2 separate regions of the Homo sapiens genome follow, and region 1 is linked to region 2. Evidence: promoter capture Hi-C in human tissues and cell types (Jung and others, 2019). All regions are on one chromosome and are shown on one strand. The core of a region is centred on a gene start or on the middle of the fragment in contact, and the rest is flanking DNA. Distances in the headings are between cores, read along the strand shown. Region 1 has its middle 56 kb from the start of EPHA6. Region 2 holds the start of EPHA6 (EPH receptor A6).

Region 1 (3,250 bases), core at 113-2,612, 56 kb after region 2:
CTCATGGTCAGAAGTGCTTTCTCAGGTTTAGTTGGGCTCCCTTGGCTGATAAGAGGGTCCATTTAGTGAATTGAGGGTTTAGAATTTTATTTTTGCTTTACAGAGATTTTACTTCCCAGCACAGAGAAAGATCTGGCATCACAAGGATAGTTTTAAAATAAGTGATACTATGAAAATGTTAAAAATAAGCAATACTATGAATATATTATTTTTTCATTGCTTCAAGGACTGTCAGTTTTGGGGCACATTGTTAATGAGCAAATGTTAAATCTACCCTTTTTTTTTTTTTTTTTTGAGACAGAGTCTCGCTCTGTCGCCCAGGCTGGAGTGCAGTGGCGCGATCTTGGCTCACTGCAAGCTCCGCCTCCCAGGTTCACACCATTCTCCTGCCTCAGCCTCCGGAGTAGCTGGGACTACAGGCGCCTGCCACCATGCCCGGCTAATTTTTTTGTATTTTTAGTACAGACGGGGTTTCACCACGTTAGCCAGGATAAATCTACTTTTAAAAGGACATGATACTAAAATATTACTCAGACCTAGTAATGTGAATAATAAATAATAATTCAGAGGTTACACCTTAAATAAAATATAAAGCAGAATTGTAAACAATTTGATATTTTGTACTTCGTTTTAGGAAAATTGGGGGAAAATTTTCAAAATTGGTATTTCACATCTCCCATGCAACGATACTTCTTTTTGTTGGCTTCTTAAACTAAAAATCAAGATTGTGATAAGAAATGTCCTATTAAACAAATTTTGTATATTGTATTTGCATCTGGACATGGAGTGATATTGCTTACCATGAGGTATCACTTATATCATTTCAACTGAAATCAGAGTGTGAATAATATAAGTACAGTAAACTAGCTGATCAAATTCAAAATTTCATTTAAAATGAAACAAAATACTTATCCATTTACCTTTCAGTAAGATATAGTTTGGTTAAGAAGAAAAATGTGTGAGAGAGTGAGAGAGAGCTAATTTAGGTACATCAAAATTCCTGAGATTTAAAAACCTCTTTTTGAACGATTCACCTTCTTACAGCTTAGTATTGCCCTTCTACTTGTCAGTTTAGAATTAGCTGTCAAATTTTTCTGGTTATATGCCAGTCTTTCTTTTCATTTTTAAACAGTTATATTTTAAGTGAAATGTGGAGTAAAAAATGGCTTAGACAAATCTGCACATGAGCTCTTTGCTCTGTCACTAATTAGACAGATGACTTATAGAGTTTTATTGTTTTCTGAGTTTTATTTTCTTTAAAGTGGAAGTGACAAAATCTGCTCTATAACCTGGTTGTTGATCAAATTTAATGAGTTAATAGATATAGCACATAGCACAGACTAGGTGCTCAATAAGTACATTTCCCTCTATCGAACTATCCCTTTTAAGTAAGAAAATGCAATATTCTTATTTATCAATTTTAAAATTAATTTAAGACAATAAATATATGTTACATATCATAGTGAATAAATATTACAACAAATTAATGACTGATGGTACTATCATTTCTAAATTTAATAAATTTGTAACTGTCTTAACATGTTTTCTAAGCACTAAAAAAAAAACACTTTTTATATGTATTACAATGTTCATATCAGATGCCACTAGAGGGACTTGTATTATCAAAAGTGTCTTTCAGAAGCATCAATTGAAAATGTAGAGGAAAATTTAGTAAAGTGGAAATGCCAGATAGTGATTTCTATATTTAAGATTTCAACATGTTATGAAAAATGAAACTATTTTCTGCATTAATTCATTTCACTTTTAAATACTTTATTTCAGAATAAATAATATTTTCTGTATTATTGAGTAAAATATTTTTCACTTAATTTAAGCCATTTAAAATAATGATTTTTTGGACATGACACCAAAAGCACAAGCAACAAAACTAAAACCAATGAAACTATATCAAACTAAAAATTTTCTGCCCAATAAAAGAAACAACTTAAGAAAATGAAAAGGCAGTCTATGGAATGGGATGAAATATTTTCAAATAATTTATCTCATAAAGGTTCATCAAAATATGTAGGAAACTCATACAACTCAACAGCAAATACCTAAAAAACCCAATTAAATAATGTGCAAATGACTCCAAAAGAAATTTTTCTAATGAAAACATACAGAGGACCAGTAGGCATATGAAAAGCTACTCAACATCACTAATTATCATTGAAGTACAAATTAAAATCACAATGAGATATCAGCTGACATATGTAAGGATGGCTATTATCAGTGCAATGAAAAATAAGTGTTGGTGAGGATGAGGAGAAAAGGGAACGCTTATACATGTTGGTGGGAATGTAAATTAATACAGCCATTATGGAAAGTATCATGGAGGTCCTTCAAAAAACTAAAAATAGAAACACCATATATATGATCTAAGCAATCCCACTATGGGGTACATATCAAAAGGATATGAAATCAGTATGTTAAGAGATGATTTCACTCCCATGTTCATTGCAGCATTATTCACAGTGGCCAAGGTGTGGAATCAATCTAAGTGTTCATCAGTGGATAAGTGGATAAAGAAAAAATGGTATATACACACAATGGAATATTCTGCAGCCTTCAAAAAGAAGAAAATCCTACCACTTGGGATTATATGAATGAAGCTGGAAGATGTTATGCTAAGTGAAAAAAGCCAGACACAGAAAGACAAATACCACCTGAAATCACTTATATGTGGAGTCTAAAAAAGTCATCTTAATAGAAACAGAGAGTAGAAGGGTGAATATAAGGGGCTGGGGGTTTTGGGTTGGAGGTGGGGGTGGTAGAATGGGAAGATGTTATTCAAAGGGAACAAACTTTTGGTCATAAAATAAGTTCTGGAGACCTAATATATAGCATGGTGCCTTTAGTTAATAATGTGTACTTGGAATTTACAAAGATAATAGATGTCAAGTATTCTCATCATACACACATGGAGTTAACAATGTGAGGTGAAGGATGTGTTAATTGGCTTTCTGGTGGTAATCATTTCATAATGTATATACATTTCAAAACATCACATTTTACACCTTAAATTTATATAATTATTTGTTAATTATACCTCTAAAAAGCTGGAAAAGATAATGTATTAAGAAACAATATTTCAATAGTTTGTGTTTGTATTGTTACGAAAGGAACTCTTTAAAGTGTCAGGTAGCTTTGCCTTATTTTGTCAGTTTTGTGGCATTGCATTGTCAAAATAAACTCTTCACATGTTTGCACAGTTGCTTAAATGAAGACTAAATCAGTAGCTCTCTTAAAA
Region 2 (3,794 bases), core at 294-2,793:
AAGAATGCTGTGTTGTTTATCTTCTCCCTTAACCTTCTCCTCACACAAAAAGTGAACACTTTCAAGCCATCTGACCTCCATTTTTATACCTGCAAATTACTTCGAGACTCTGAAACATATGCCTTATGTGTTAAATGATAACTATAACTGACTACCACACATAATATTTGAAGGGACATATCGGTTGGTCATTACAGCACGAGTGAGAGAATATCTAGCCAGATACATGCTGGGAAACTTTTATGGTTGTTTCATGCTTAGTCTGAAAGGACTTAGAATATGCAGGTGGTACTTTTTATAGATCTTTATGCACAGCAGAAATACAAGGAGATATATTTCATGAAGATTGTATGAATAGAAAAAGGGAAAATGCTCAAATATTCCAAGGGCTTTCCATCACTTTTTAACCACTATTTACCTTCACTTTACCACTTTACCCACCGAAACAAAGTCCTCCAAGCAATCTGTCAGTGACTTGACTTCATGAATAGGGTATTCACAACTTGGAAATTCACCCTAAACCCTTTTCTACTCCCTGCCCGCAAGAATATGAAACCCCTACACAGATCTGGAGCATCTGGTCTAGGAAGAATTTCGAGTAAGTCTACTTCGGTGGCCTGGATGGTAGATGAAGCATGGGGACTGAGGCTGGGCGAGGGCGGCAGTCACCGGAGGGGTGGGGAAAGACTGATAACTGGTCACGGGGTACAGCGGGAGCACCCTGCCTTTCAAGAAGGCATGTGGGAGAACCACACGTTCCCCTGAGAAGAGCGACCACCAAAGAGCCAGAAGTCTCCATTAAGTCTGTGCCACGGAGCCTGACTTCCAGTGGAGACAGCGCAGCGGGGAGCGGTCCCACGGCCGCTAGCGGTGGGACCCAACTGCAGCTGATGCTCACGCTACCGTTTAAAGACATTTAGAAACACAACGGATCCTAGCCTGTGGAGTCACCGTCCCGGGCGGTGTAAACAGGGCGCTAGGGTAAGGGGACATCCTCGATCCCCTCGTGTGGCGAGCCAGGAGACTCTGACCCCTGTACAAAGTTACCTGCAGGAGGCAACCAGTACCCTGGTTCTCCAAGCACCCTCCTCCTCCCACCCACTCCCGCTCCTCCGCCCCGTCCCTTACCTTGGTTGTTGGAGACGTGACTGCAGTCGCCTGGCCACGCTGTCAGCAGAGGCAAGAAGAAACCAAATTGCAAAAGAAATTCCCGGACTTCGCAGCCCCCCATGGTTCTCCTAGGCTCTCTTTTCCTCTCCCTTAAAGAGAAGTGGCGGCAGCGCAGGCAGGTGTTCTGGGTAGGATGGGGGTCCTTGTCCACGTCTTCTTCCTCCTCCTCCTCTTCCTCCTCCACCCGGCCCGCAGGGGGTGTCCCGGGGCGCCCCCTGCGCGAGGTCCCGGGAACAGGGCACGAGGGTCCAGGCTGCCCAGTTGCAGGTGCAGCTGCTTCGGAGGAGGACGCTGCCTGCGGCGCCGGGGAGCTCCTCGCGGCTGGAGGCGAGGGGAATTGCATCCACCACAGTGTCCCGCTTGCGCGAGGACTATTCACTTGGGCCGGAGAGAGCGCGCGCGCGCAAGAGCGAGCTCGGGCTGTGGTTTGGGGGAGGGGAGCGAGGGGGCGGGGAGCGCCTCACCGCGAGGACGGGGGCGGGGACGGACTGCCAGGTGGGGCGGGCAGTTGGGGCGGCCCGAGGACCTCTCCCGACTCAAGTGGGCACTTGCGGAGCCAAAAGCAGGGGAGGCGCTGCAGCTGTGAAGAGGCGTGGGGGCCGCGGGAACTTTCCTCTGGCCGGTGCGATGAAAGCCGGGCGGACGAGGTGGCTCAACGGGGCTGAGAGTGGTTCGGCCGAGGCGCGGGCTGAGCCCTCAGCACCTGGCCTGAGCGGCGTGGGCAGCAGCCTGCACCGCGGACACCTCCAACTCTGCCGCGTCTGCGCCGCACTCTGGCCGTGGCAGCGATTTTCCGGGCATCTCTGAGGCCGCCCTTAGTCCCACAAGCACTTAGCCGCCCATTTCAGAGCAGCGGCGCCGACCGTTTTAAGAGGAGTCAGTTCCCGACACCGCCTCCCACTTACTTCTCCACATTTCCACCGCTGGAGGGGGTGAGTGCCGTGGACAGGCGCTCCCGTCCGGGGACAGCTCAGCGGCGGCAGTCAGCCCGACCCTCCTCCGCGCGGGTCGCCCAAACTTGACCAGCAGAGCGAGCGGCTCAGCGCAGTAGCCGCCTTCGCGGCTTCCAGTTGTAGAAAAGCAAAGCGCCGGGAGGAAGCAGCAGAGGGGGGGTTACATGAGGCTGGAAAGTGGCGGGTGTACGGCGCCCGGGATCGCCGAGGTCCTTGCGTCGCCTTGCGGAGGTGACTTCGCGGTGGAGGTCACGAGCATCGTCGCAGCCTTGACGCTGGGATTCAGGGGTCCCCGAGCGTCCACGGCGTGGTGGCGTCGGGCCGCGCTCTCCTAGCAGTCCAAGGGCCGAGTGGCGCGTGGCCACATCCACAGCAGCGCAGGGGCGCCGTGGGCTGACGGCTCTCCCCGCGCGAGCCGCCCCCTCGCGGCACCCACTCCCTCCCCGCGCTCGGGTCTCCCGGAAGCCGAGGCGCGGGCCACTTGGTGGGACTCCGCGGCCCCCGCCCCAGGGCCGGGGCAACGCGGCGTGCTGACTGGGAGGACCCTCGGCGTCCGCGGTCTCCACCACCTCGCCCCGCGGCGGAGGCGGGCGCCCAGGGCAGGGACGGAGCCCGGAGCGCTGCAGAGCCCGGCCAAGCCCAGCCTTCTCCCGGCCTGGCAGCCGCGGCTCGGATGCCGCCAGTTCGGCGCTAGAGGGGGTTAGTCGACAACAAAAATGCCTGCACCGCTCGCAGGTGGAGGCGGCTCATCAGGCCAGGAACCGAAAGGAGGGAGGGATGCTGTCAGGCTAAACTTAACGCCTTGGTTAAGGGCGCGTCAAGGAAACCGTATCGCTTGGGTGGGGATTTCCGTGATACTTTATTTGTTACTAGTATTTCCAACATCATTTTTCTTTCTTGAAGGGACTTCGGCTATCACAGTCGAGGGAGGTTGAAAACCCCACTTCAAAACCCGTCGGAATGTTTTGAGAAAATGTGGATGGTAATGGAGAAATGTGAACAGAGGAGAGAAAGTAGCGGTCTTGTAAAGGATATACGATATTTTCCAAGTGGGCAGAAAGCACAGGAGGGAAATGGCACAGTGACAAGAGGTCAGGGGAGCGGGAGATGGAGCCAAGGGTCGGCGTTTGACGCTTACAGAGTTCTGGAAGGGAAAGGACCCTTCTATTCCATGCATTCCTGCGCTGCGATGTTTTTGTGCCACACACCATAGCTGAAGAAGTTTCACTTAATGCCTTACAGTAAATTGGAAGGAAAGAAAGAATGAGAGCAAGAAATGTCCCATGTCAAAAATTCTGCTGCGTGGAGAGAAATGGTGAAATACAAGCGATTTGGAGAATGTGAGGAAGGGTTCTGATTGGTGACTATACTCTCATTCTCATTAGGAATTCATACACCTCTGCCTCTCTTTGAAGGTGTGTCCACACCAACTTAAATGTATGCAAATCATTTCTAAAAAGATACCATGTGTGGAGTTTATATATCGGCACTTAAGAGTAAAATCTGACTTTGATACTCATTTTGCCACTCTTACTGATATTGATTGACCACATGAGCATTTGCAAACTCATTTTAGAGTTTATAAACTCAGTTACAAAATAAAAAGACTACATTATCACCATTATAATATAAATCATTGTGTCTAAATAATGTTCTTAGAAATTTCTAATG

Evidence for each region. Contacts are between HindIII fragments. The study calls those that stand out against the background at their distance.
Region 1: a fragment that was not itself captured here is called in contact with the fragment with the promoter of EPHA6 in region 2 in 1 of the 25 tissues and cell types used here (H1 embryonic stem cells).

The regions. Positions count from the first base shown.
Region 1 is chr3:96,757,186-96,760,435 of GRCh38, reverse strand. No RefSeq gene overlaps it. Among named protein-coding and RNA genes, the nearest start is that of EPHA6, 56 kb to the left of the region's middle. The HindIII fragment of the contact is 7,205 bases long and covers 1-3,250 here.
Region 2 is chr3:96,812,343-96,816,136 of GRCh38, reverse strand. It overlaps EPHA6 (EPH receptor A6), which reads right to left and starts at 1,543. Exons shown (of 18, transcript NM_001080448.3): 1 at 1,129-1,543. The coding sequence starts at 1,513. LOC124909397 (a long non-coding RNA gene) reads left to right here and starts at 1,730. Exons shown (of 2, transcript XR_007095974.1): 1 at 1,730-2,102; 2 at 3,027-3,794. RefSeq lists silencers at 2,458-2,577, 2,638-2,707. The HindIII fragment of the contact is 14,633 bases long and covers 1-3,794 here.